Linked DNA regions of Homo sapiens: all the other regions are linked to region 3. Evidence: promoter capture Hi-C in 16 types of primary human blood cells and fetal thymus (Javierre and others, 2016). All regions are on one chromosome and are shown on one strand. The core of a region is centred on a gene start or on the middle of the fragment in contact, and the rest is flanking DNA. Distances in the headings are between cores, read along the strand shown. Region 1 overlaps GPR155 (G protein-coupled receptor 155). Region 2 has its middle 11 kb from the start of GPR155-DT. Region 3 holds the start of WIPF1-AS1 (WIPF1 and CHRNA1 antisense RNA 1). Region 4 overlaps GPR155 (G protein-coupled receptor 155).

What was found. The method cuts DNA at HindIII sites, captures the fragments that hold promoters and counts their contacts. A CHiCAGO score of 5 or more calls a contact.
Region 1: a contact is called between a fragment that was not itself captured here and the fragment with the promoter of WIPF1-AS1 in region 3, in 8 of 17 cell types (non-activated CD4 T cells, activated CD4 T cells, naive CD4 T cells and 5 more). The highest score is 9.5, in non-activated CD4 T cells.
Region 2: a fragment that was not itself captured here is called in contact with the fragment with the promoter of WIPF1-AS1 in region 3 in 3 of 17 cell types (activated CD4 T cells, non-activated CD4 T cells and total CD4 T cells); the score reaches 6.1 in activated CD4 T cells.
Region 4: a contact is called between a fragment that was not itself captured here and the fragment with the promoter of WIPF1-AS1 in region 3, in 1 of 17 cell types (non-activated CD4 T cells). The highest score is 5.4, in non-activated CD4 T cells.

The regions. Positions count from the first base shown.
Region 1 is chr2:174,480,015-174,482,795 of GRCh38, forward strand. It overlaps GPR155 (G protein-coupled receptor 155), which reads right to left. Exons shown (of 16, transcript NM_152529.7): 2 at 1,483-1,973. The coding sequence starts at 1,942. Among named protein-coding and RNA genes, the nearest start is that of GPR155, 5.6 kb to the right of the region's middle. The HindIII fragment of the contact is 395 bases long and covers 1,215-1,609 here.
Region 2 is chr2:174,496,483-174,499,360 of GRCh38, forward strand. No RefSeq gene overlaps it. Among named protein-coding and RNA genes, the nearest start is that of GPR155-DT, 11 kb to the left of the region's middle. The HindIII fragment of the contact is 1,744 bases long and covers 653-2,396 here.
Region 3 is chr2:174,573,937-174,576,721 of GRCh38, forward strand. It overlaps WIPF1-AS1 (WIPF1 and CHRNA1 antisense RNA 1), which reads left to right and starts at 1,291. Exons shown (of 2, transcript NR_199010.1): 1 at 1,291-1,493. WIPF1 (WAS/WASL interacting protein family member 1) reads right to left here. Exons shown (of 8, transcript NM_001375834.1): 4 at 1,268-1,444. The HindIII fragment of the contact is 9,595 bases long and covers 1-2,785 here.
Region 4 is chr2:174,447,767-174,450,807 of GRCh38, forward strand. The region is part of intron 11 of GPR155 (G protein-coupled receptor 155); the gene reads right to left. Among named protein-coding and RNA genes, the nearest start is that of GPR155, 38 kb to the right of the region's middle. The HindIII fragment of the contact is 7,677 bases long and covers 1-3,041 here.

The DNA of each region.
Region 1 (2,781 bases), core at 162-2,661, 94 kb before region 3:
CAGAAGTGAAAAGTATAGTTAAATAGAATCTTTTTGGTACCAGCAGTGAAATAAGTTGGGGTTTGAGGGGAAAGGATAAAACTGCTAGGTAAGAAACTTGAAAGTTAATTGTAGATTTCAATTGTATCCTTCAATAGGCTCAAGTCTCTGCTCAGAAGACATATCATCAGAGAGGCCTTCATTGACCACCCTACCTCAAATAGCACCTCCACATTCCTATCCTTCTACGTGACTTTATTTTTATGGCCCTTGTCACCACCTGACATGATTTTAATTTTATTATTCTCCCATTACAATGTAAATTTAATATGTGCAATAACTTTGTTCACAGCTATAATCCCAACAGTCAGCACAGCCACTGGTACGAAACAGTTCCTTATGAGTGAGTGAATGAATGAATGAATGAATATATCTATAATATTCAAGTCCTCATACTTGATAGATGATCAAAGTATATATAACTTTAATTTAAAATATAAAAAAGTAATTTAAAATATACATTTTCTTGGTGACAGAGTGTTCTGAAATATAGAATGTTTCCTTTCAAGATATGTCAATATCCCAAACTGGTACGTTTACTGTTTCATTAGTAAAACATATACACATAGAAACATAAAATTAGGCTGCTGAAAGAGTCAGAAACATAAAAAAGGAAAAGTTAGAAAGGTAAAAAAGCTCTCACCATTTTTTTTCTTAAACAAGAAATTAACTGCAACTAAAATACATTAAAATTTTGAATAACAAGCTCAAAAACAATTTTTTTTTTTAAATTTGAGACAGGGTCTCACTCTGTCACCCAGGCTGGAGTACAGTGGTATAATATTGACCCACTGCAACCTCTGCCTCCTGGGCTCAAGCAATCCTCCTGCCTCAGCCTCTTGGGTAGCTGGGACTACAGCCTTGTGCCACCACAGCTGACTAATTTTTTGTTGTTGTTATTTTTTTATACAGACGAGGTTTCACCCTGTTGCCCAGGCTGGTCTCGAACTCCTAGGCTCAAGTGATCTGCCCCCCTCGGCCTCCCAAAGTGCTGGGATTATAGGTGTGAGCCACATCTGGCCCCAGAACAATTTCTGATATAAAATAATACATATTCTAGATGGTAGGAAAAATAAATTCCTTTCACAAACACTTAATAATAACTATTTTTATATAGACATAAATCTACTTTTTTAACATAATTTAAATCACAATTGGATCCTTTCTAAAAATTAAGCTTCTTTCATATGTGCTTACCGGGAAGAAAAAAATACAATTAGGACTGTTCACAGTGGTTATTAGAATATGACCGTTTATTTTAGGTAGATGTTTAAAGGATCCTCAAACTCTGAAGTTTAGGAAAAACTATGATTCATCCTAAGACATATTTGAGAAAAAAATGAAAAACTTCTTAGATATGAGAGTAAGAATCTGTTACTAACAAATGCCTAAATAAATTAAAATTGAATTTTTTAAACACTTGAAAAATAAAAATTAACTTACCTATAGGGTATCCCAATGCAAAGTCATTACTTTGTGTAGCAAAAATAGGGAATAGTCCAGCTTTGCTAAATCGACTATCAGGACTGGCAACCAATAAGGTTAATACACATACAATGAAAAATACAGAAGCTTTGGCAATTAAGATACTATATAGGAAGGACCAGTCCACATTGGAAAAATTAAGTACAACCATGTTTTTGAATAATAAAGCTGGAAGTGCAAATCTGGAGACAAAATTTCCTAGTCCTTTGGCCTGGGTTGATGTTATGACATTGGCCCTTCCTGCTATGTAGCCACAAAGGACAATGCCAAAGCATTCCAGTAAGGCTGGAAAAAGCCTTGTAATTGACATTGAAGGTGGGTCATTAGTGGAATTAAATCCATGCGTTACTGCTGTAGGCAAAGTCTTGGTCATATTGACTGCAATGGTTAAGTTCTCTGCAGGTAAATTAGAATTCATTTTCTCTCACCCTCCAACTCCAACCAGATCTCTGGAAAGAAAGGAAGAAAGATTCAGTATGGCCATCAACAAGAATTCTAGTTGAAATAATACACTGGCAAACCTAGATTTGTTTACTTATTAAATGGCCAAATAAATATACATACCCCTAGATTTATTTACTTATTCAATGGCCAAATAAATATACATACCATCAGGGAAAATACAATGGAAAAAAAAGTGGGGGGTTGCTAACAATAATCGCTTCACTCTCAAAGGCAGGTCAGCTCAAAATATTTATGTTGCTAAGTTCTATACTCAGTATTAGACATGAGTAAAATAAGATCCGCAAATATTAGAGCTGCAGTGATGCCCTGTGGTTCTCTCCAGTGATTCTCTCCATCAATTGAGCTCCGCCTGGTGGATAAGGGCATCGGGCACACATAGTCTCCGCTGAATGTCCCCATGCATCCAAATTCTCTGGAAATTTCAGAAGTTCTCAAGGCTACATTGAGGAGTCACCCAGGGACCAGAGTCCTTTCCAGCCCGTGGTCATATTTGAATATAGGATGGGAAGAAGGGTATAGTAGAGCACTACTAATCAACTTTAAACCAATAACTTTTTTTTCTAAAGACAGGGTCTTGCTCTGTCTCCCAGGCTGGAGTGCAGTGGTGCAATCTCAGCTCAGTGCAACCTCTGTCTCCTGGGTTCAAGCGATTCGTGTGCCACCACGCCCGGCTAATTTTTGTATTTTTGTAGCGACATGTTGCTTAGGCTGGTTTTGAACTCCTGACCTCAGGTGATCTGCCTGCCTCAGCATCCCACAGTGCTGGGATTACAGGCATGAGCCACTGTGCCC
Region 2 (2,878 bases), core at 275-2,774, 77 kb before region 3:
AGCTCACTGCAGTTCCAAATTCCTGGGCTCAAGTAGTCCTCTCGCCTCAGCCTCGGAGTAGCTAGGTGTGCGCCACCACACCCAGCTAATTTTTTTTTTGTAGAGACAGCGTCTGGCTATGGTGACCAGACCGGTCTTAAACTCCTGACTTCAAGCAGTCCTCTTGCCTTGGCCTCCCAAAGTGTTGGGATTATAGGTGTAACCCACCATGGCCAGCCTGTAAGTCTGTCTTAAGAGTAAGTAGGAATATTTATCTTAGAGGAGGGCAAAAAAATTTTTCTATGGTCTCAGTGCTCATTGGGAGAAATATGTTTTCATCATTAAAAAAGGGCACATTGAGTCTGGCATTTTCCATTAGAAATCCATTTCAGTAACTGTTTTCCTATGACATTGTTCCTCATGTGAAACCCATTTCTTTTGATTTGCTCTTTGTGAAGAAAAACAAAACAAACCAGTTGGCTGTCTTCATTCCTTGTACATATACACCATGTCTTCACTATGATGTCATTTCCAAACCCCAGTTAGAAAGTTCACATTATAGGTAAAACTAGGTGAGGTAATATTCTGACACATTCAATAACTAAGCCAATACATTGAATGTGTTGTCGATTATGTAGTAAAACCCCAGTGTAGTCTTTTCACCATCTCTTAAAGCTTTGGTTTTTGAGAAACAATTATAATTCCTCTTATCTTTCTTCAGAGATGTTATTTTCTAAAATTTGGCTTTTTAATAATCTTTTCCTTTATAGTTTGTGCATTTGGTATCTTTTAAAGAAATCCTTCCTTGCATCAAGGTCATAATGATATTTACCTACGTTTTCTTCTAAAAGCTAAATGTTTTGTAAAATTGTTTTTCTTTGTATCATTTTTCAATTCTCATCTGTTATTAGAGCCCCACTCTAGATCCAGAATGTACAAAGTTTCTGTCCCACAGAGAATAATACTTCTGCAGCTCCTGCTAGAGTCTGGATCAAAAAACTCTCAATGTAGAATAAAGTGAAATAGGAGTGTTCAAAGAGATTTTAAAATTTATAAAATGTGGTAAAAGAAGATAGCAGATGGCTGGGTGTGGTGGCTTGCACCTGTAATCCTAGCACTTTGGAGGCCAAGGTGGGAGGATTGCTTGAGCCCAGGAGTTTGAGACCAGCCTTGGCAACACACTGAGACCCTGTCTCTATTTATTTAAAAAAAAAAAAAAAGGGCCAGGTGCGGTGGCTCACACCTGTAACTCACTTTGGAAGGCCAAGGCAGGTGGATTACTTGAGGTCAGGAGTTCTAGACCAGCCTGGCCAACATGGTGAAACCCTGTCTCTACTAAAAATACAAAAATTAGCTGGGCATGGTAGCACATGCCTGTAATCCCAGCTACTTGGGAGGCTGAGACAGAAGAATCACTTGAACCTGGAAGGTGGAGGTTGCAGTGAGCCAAGACCATGCCACTGCACTCCAGCCTGGGTGACAGAGCGAGACTCTGTCTCAAAAAAAGAAAAGGTAGCAGAGCAGTAAGAGCAGTATCAGCTAATGGAAATATAAATTATCTTAAAGCCAACCCTCCAGAGATACTGAAGAGATGAGGCCTTAAACCTTGAGAAGAGTGAGCAAATGCAGTATGTGTGGTCTAATGGCCAGTAGCCATGTTGTGGATAAACTTATCACATGTTTGTCAAATGTCTAGCACAGATATGCTTATCATATATTTGTCAAATATCTAGCAGGACCTTGAAGATGCCCTTGAAGAAAAGTCACTTCACAGTCCCATGTCATGGCTAATAAGTAGCCAACCACTCAGAGTGAGGTGAGGTGTTTCATTCCTGTAATCCCAGTAACTCAAGAGGCTAAGGCAGGAGGATCATTTGAGGCCAGGCGTTCAGGATCAGCATGGAAGACACAGTGAAGCCTTGTCTCCAAAAAACAAAGTCATCTCAAAGACAGAACTCTTTGGTGGTACACTCCTGTAGTCCTAGCTACTCAGGAGGCTGAAGTGGGAGGATCACTTGAGCCCAGCAGTTTGAGGCTGCAGCAAGCTATGATTGCACCACTGCACTCCAGTCTGGGTGACAGAGTGATGGTCTGTCTCCAAAAAAAATTAAATTAAAAAAAATTAAAAATAATATAAGAAAGAAATCCTTGGATACAGTTCCTAGGTGTCCCACACAGCTGAACCCTGCTATGGCTCCAGCCTCCCATGTCCACCTGCTCCCTTAGGTCCTTGGCTCAACTTTGGAACTGGTTGTTGCACTTTGGGCTCCAGCCCTTGTGCCGCTCTGTGAATATCTATCACCTCCTGTCTTCTGCCTGCCCCAGTGGTGCTGCTCTATTATTGACTTGGCTCACTTGTACACTCAGAATCAGAGGGACTTCGTGATCCCTAATATCACCTCAAGCTGATACGAGTAAGCTTCTAGCCTTACCTGACCCGCTGTTACCTGGTGGAGACTATTGCTTGTACTGGTAAAGCCAAACCATTATGAGAGCTCCACATACTCAAATGGTCTTGATGACAGTCCTCTAGCAAAGGAGGCATTTCCATAGATACGAAATCATCTGTTTTCAAAGGTGTGACCTGTGTTAGGCTACCCTGGGCTGAGTAGGCCCATCCTTTGTAGGAAGACCTATTTTCCTCCCACCAAGTGACTCTGATAGTTTGGTGGGTTCGAGGGATGATTCCCCTCCTCACCAGCAACCGACTTCCCTGCTGTCCACTATAAGAAGTGTTACTTCTGGCTGGGTGCGGTGGCTCATGCCTGTAATAGTAGCTCTTTGGGAGGCCGAGGCGGGTGGATCACCTGACTTCAAGAGTTTGGGACCAGTCTGGCCTACGTGGTGAAACCCCGCCTCTACTAAAAATACAAAAATTAGCTGGGCGTGGTGGCACCTG
Region 3 (2,785 bases), core at 41-2,540:
TGGAGTGCAGTGGTGCAATCACGGCTCATTGCAGCTTCAACTTCCTGGGCTCAGGCAATCCTCCCACCTCCGCCTCCTGGGTAGCTGCGACTACAGGCAAGAGCCACCATGCCCACTAACTTTTTGTTTTTTTTTAGTAGAGACAGGATTTTGCCATGTTGCCCAGGCTGTTCTTGAATTTTTGGGCTTCAGCCATCTGCCTGCCTTGACCTGTGAAAGTGCTGGAATTATAGGTGTGAGCCACCATGCCTGGCCCATTTTATTATTTTATTTTTCTTTGTCTTTTGCCTTAATTTCTTCACCTGTTGTTAAAGTACTAAATGTATACATTTATCAGCTGCCTTAAATCCTTTTGGTGAGTTTTAAATAAATTTAAATTCAAATTTAAATGGTGGTCTGGCAAGATAGAACCTCTCATGTGACTGAGTTTCTCTCTAGATTTGGACCATTCAGTGATAAAATAGTAGGCTAACCCTGAGGATTCAGTGATTCCATATTCATGTAAATGTGAGAGTTTCATTCTTTCCCAGGGGACATCTTATAAAAGGTCTAAAAATGAAAATTATTATAACATGATCAACATTACAAAAGCAGTTTTATGGTAAAATTTCTTGAGTTTCTGTAGTAGCTGGGAGAGAGCCTCATGCCCTCTGCAAAGTTTTTTATCTAGGCATTCATGAGCAAGTTCAGTTTTTTTCTACCATCAGGTTCATAGACAATCCTGAAGGACTCATGTCCATGGCTCCCTGCAGAGACTCCTGAGAACCACTGGCACTGAAATACCAAATATCTGTCATGCAAAACACTTTTTCAGATTTAGTGAGATTTGTAATCATATTCCACAAGATGTGCTCCATCGTGTTTGAAAAGCGGCTCACAAGTATTTACTCTACTAGACAGCTGGGCTACCTCACAAAGAAAGCTGAATCTGTCAGGTCACCAGGCAGATTTCCAGGGCCAGCAAGTTCTATTTGCTCCTCCCTTTTCTTCCCACTCCAGCTAACCCTTTAGAAAAGTAAAAAAAAAAAAATGTACAGGTTACCCCCAAAGACACTGGGTGAAAATTTCATAGTTCTGTGTAGCTGTCTGATCCTGGTTAATAATAATAATAAAGCCTAAATTGAGTCTCTTATAAAACAGTGGTAATATTTAAAACAATGTACAATATTTTAATAAGGGCGAAGAGCCTTAGAGGCTATGACCAGCCTCCAAACTGCCAAACTCTGCCTTGTCTTCAGTCACTCAGAGACAGGGAAACTCTCCTTACCATTATCCCTGTTGGCCGTGGATCTCAGCTTCGGCATTCCAGCCTGGAACAATCCTCCCAGACCTGGAGGTCCGCCCCCTCCAAAACTTCCACCGCCTCCGCCACCACCTCCTCCGCCAAATCCGCCGCCTCCACCAAAGCCACCACCACCGCCTCCAGCACCAGCTCCTTTAGGTTCTGTAGAAGAAGAGACACCCGACAGACTATGCCCCCTGGTCTGGCCCAGGTAAACCATAAAACAACAGTACAACAGGGAGCTGGCCGGCTCTCGGCCTCCAGTGGACAACTGGGATTTCTTCATTAAAATGCAGGATTTTAAGAGTTCCCTCAGCTCAGTCAGAACTGCCCGCTCCAGGCAGTCCCAAGCCCAGTGGTGGAAGAAACGAAAATAAAGGATGATTTGTCCCCACACTCCCCACTTGACTGGCTGCCACATGGGTCAGTATCTGTTTGTTCCGTATCCTAAGATTTGGCAAATAGAAGGATCTTCAGGCTGGGTGCAGTGGCTCACACATGTAATCTCAGCACTTTGGGAGGCTGAGGTGGGAGGATCGCTTGAGCCAGGGAGGTCAAGACTGCAGGGAGCCAAGACTGTGCCACTGCACTCCAGCCTGGGTGACAGTGAGACCCTGTCTCAGTAAAAAGGATCTTCAAAGAAAGAGGGTCGCAAGGGAGGAGGAGATGCCATAAAAGGCGAGAAGAAAGGAAAGAGTTAAAAAGAAAAGAAAATAAAATATCTCATAATTTCACAAATATACAAATATCCAGGCTAGGCACAGTGGCTCACACCTATAATACCAGCACTTTGGGAGGCTGAGACTGGAGGATAGCTTAGGCCCCAGAAGTTTGAGACCACCCTGGGCAACAAAGTGAGACCTCGTCTCTACGAAAATAAACAACAACAACAAAATGTAGCCAGGCATGGTGGTGCACACCTGTAGTCCCAGCTACTTAAGAGGCTGAGTGAGAGGATCACTTGAACCCACTGAGGCTGCAGTGAGCTATGATTGCACCACTGCACTCCAGCAAAAAAAAAAAAAAAAAAACACTAAGCAAATATCCACAATTGAGTTATACTTTTTCCCATCAGTATTTTTCATTTTATGTGTTTTTTCTTAAAATTAAGAACAAATTCACTAAGCAGTATTAAGCCTGCTTTTTTCATTTAACACTTTGTTAGCACTTCTTGTGTCATACTCTTTGAAAACATGAGTTTAAAGGATTCTATTGTATTGTAGAACATGAATGTATTACATTAAAATTTATTTAACTACTCATTTGATGGCCCTTTAGATTGCTATTAATTTTTTAATATCATGAAGCCCAATAGTAGGCTTTAGTAATTTAAACATTCTTTGCAATTTGAGAGGGTATAAAGATCTTGTTTTATTTTGAATTTATCTGCAAAAAATTGTGAAAGATTTTGATGGGAGGCAAACAAACAAACAAACAAAAAGATTACTGAGTATTCTGTCTAGTCTTCTGGGTTACTTTCCATTGTCTTTGAGCCACAGTATC
Region 4 (3,041 bases), core at 250-2,749, 130 kb before region 3:
TGGCAACAATAGGAACTGGGGACTACTAGAGGTGAGGAGGGAGGAAGGGGGACAAAGGTTGAAAAAGTATATAATATATATTTTTATTTTTATATTGTATATATTAAAATTATATACATATAATTTTAAAGGCCGAATTAATAACTCAAGTTTTATCACTGATAAATCTACATATTAGTCATGAATACCCTATTTTGGCTAACTGTGAAACAAATTATTATTATCTCTTAACCTCTCATTAAAGAGTTTACAATTTGCCTTAACCCCTGCCTTTCACCATATACAAAAATTAACTCAAGATGGACTAAGATTTAAATGTAATGTCTCAGCCAGGCACGGTGGCTCACGCCTGTAATCCTAGCAATTTGGGAGGCTGAGATGGGCGGATCACTTGAGGTCAGGAGTTCAAGACCAGCCTGGCCAACATGGTGAAACCCTGTCTCTACTAAAAATACAAAAATTAGCCAGGCATGGTGGCGGCCGCCTGTAATCCCAGCTATTTGGGAGGCTGAGGCAAGGGAATTGCTTGAACCTGGGAGCAGAGGTTACAGTGAGCCAACATCGTGCCATGGCACTCCAGCATGGGCAACAGAGCAAGACTGTGTCTCAAAAAAAAGTAATGCCTCAAACTATAAGAATCCTAGAAGAAAACCTAGGAAACACCATTCTGGACATCGACCTTTGGGAAGAATTTATGACTCAGTCCTCAAAAGCAATTGTAACAAAAACACTATACTGGGAAGTTTTTTGTTTTTTGTTTTTTGTTTTTTTTTTTTTTTTTTGAGACGGAGTCTCGCTCTGTCGCCCAGGCCGGACTGCGGACTGCAGTGGCGCAATCTCGGCTCACTGCAAGCTCCGCTTCCCGGGTTCACGCCATTCTCCTGCCTCAGCCTCCCGAGTAGCTGGGACTACAGGCACCCGCCACTGCGCCCGGCTAATTTTTTGTATTTTTAGTAGAGACGGGGTTTCACCTTGTTAGCCAGGATGGTCTCGATCTCCTGACCTCATGATCCACCCGCCTCGGCCTCCCAAAGTGCTGGGATTACAGGCGTGAGCCACCGCGCCCGGCCTACTGGGAAGTTTTAAGGTAAAAACAAAAACAAAACCAAAAATTGACAAGTGGGACCTAATTAAACTAAAGAGCTTCTGCATAGCAGAAGAAACTATGAACAGAGTAGACAGACAACCTACAGAATGGGAGAAAATATTCGCACACTATGCATCTAACAAGGCCTAATATCCAGAATCTATAAGGAACTTAAACAATTGAACAAACAAAACACAAATAACTCCATTAAAAAATGCACAAAAGACATGAACAGACACTTCTCAAAGAAGACATACAAGCGGCCAACAAACATGAAAAAATGCTGCACATCACTAATCATCAGAGAAATCAAAACCACAATGAGATACCGTCTTGCATCAGTCAGAAGGGCTATTATTAAAAAATCAATAAACAACAGATGCTGGTGAGGCTGTAGAGAAAAGGGAATGCTTTATACCATTGGTGGGAATGTAAATTAGTTCAGTCACTGTGGAAAGCAGCCTGGAGATTTCTCAAAGAACTTAGAACAGGACTACCATATGACCCAGCAATCCCATTACTGGGTACATATCCAAAAGAAAAAAAATGGTTCTACCAAAAGACTCATGCACTTGCATGTTCATCACAGCACTACTCACAACAGCAAAGCATGGAATCAAACTAGGTGCCCATCGATGGTGGACTGGATAAAGAAAATGTGCTACATATATACCATGGAATACTATGTAGCCATAAAAAGAATGAAATAGGCCAGGCACAGTGGCTCATGCCTGTAGTCCCAGAACTTTGGGAGGACAAGGCGGGCAGATCGCTTGAGCTCAGGAGTTCGAGACCAGCCTGGGCAACATGGCGAAACCCTGTCTCTAAAAAACTAAACAAGTCCGGATGCGGTGGCTCACGCCTGTAATCCTAGCACTTTGGGAGGCTGAGGTGGGCAGATCACCTGAGGTCAGGAGTTTGACACCAGCCTGACCAATATGGTGAAATCCCGTCTCTACTAAAAATATAAAAATTAGCCGGGCATGGTGGCAGGTGCCTGTAGTCCCAGCTACTCGGGAGGCTGAGACAGGAGAATTGCTTGAACCTGGGAGGCGGAGGTTGCAGTGAGCCAAGATCGTGCCACTGCACTCCAGCCTGGACGACAGAGCGAGACTCCATCTCAAAAACAAAACAAAACAAAAATTAGCCAGGCGTGGTTGCACACGTCCGTAGTCCTGGCTACTTGGTAGGCTGAGGTGGGATGATGGCTTGAGCCTAGAAGGCAACAGTTGCAGTGAGCTGTGCACTCCAGCCTGGGTGGCAGAACCAGATCCTGTCTTGAAAAAAAAAAAAAAAGAATGAAATAATGTCCTTTGCAGCAACACGGATGCATCTGGAGGCCATAATCCTAAGTGAATTAACACAGAAACAGAAAACCAAGTGCTGCATGTGCTCACTTATAAGTGGGAACTAAACATCAGATACTCATGGACATAAAGATGGTAATGATGGAAACTGGGGACTACGAGAGGTGGAAAGGAGGGAGAGGGCAAGGGCTAAAAAACTACTGGGTACTATGCTTAGTACCTGGGTGATGGGATCATTTGTTTGTACCCCAAACCTCAGCATCACATAATATACCCAGGTAGCAAAACTGCACACGTACCCACTGAATCTAAAGTAAAAGTTGAAAAAAACTTTGCCTTAGGAAACACCTTTGAGGAACCATAAAAGTATTATATGCCATGTTTTGTTCACATATGGATACAAACACAAGTCACAGGCATGACTCTTTTCTGGCCAAAAATAGAGGTGAGGGACTTTTCACAGGAAGCCTTTGTTTTTCTACCTTAGCTCCATTCTATATATGGGAGCAAAAGCAAAGAAAAACATTTTTTTTACAAAATAGATGTCTAGTCCAACATATAGTCTTATACAAGTCAGTGATTAAAAACCACAATTCTATAGCTCTTGCCCTCAAGCTAAAAGAAAAAATTTGTATTTCCTAAAACCA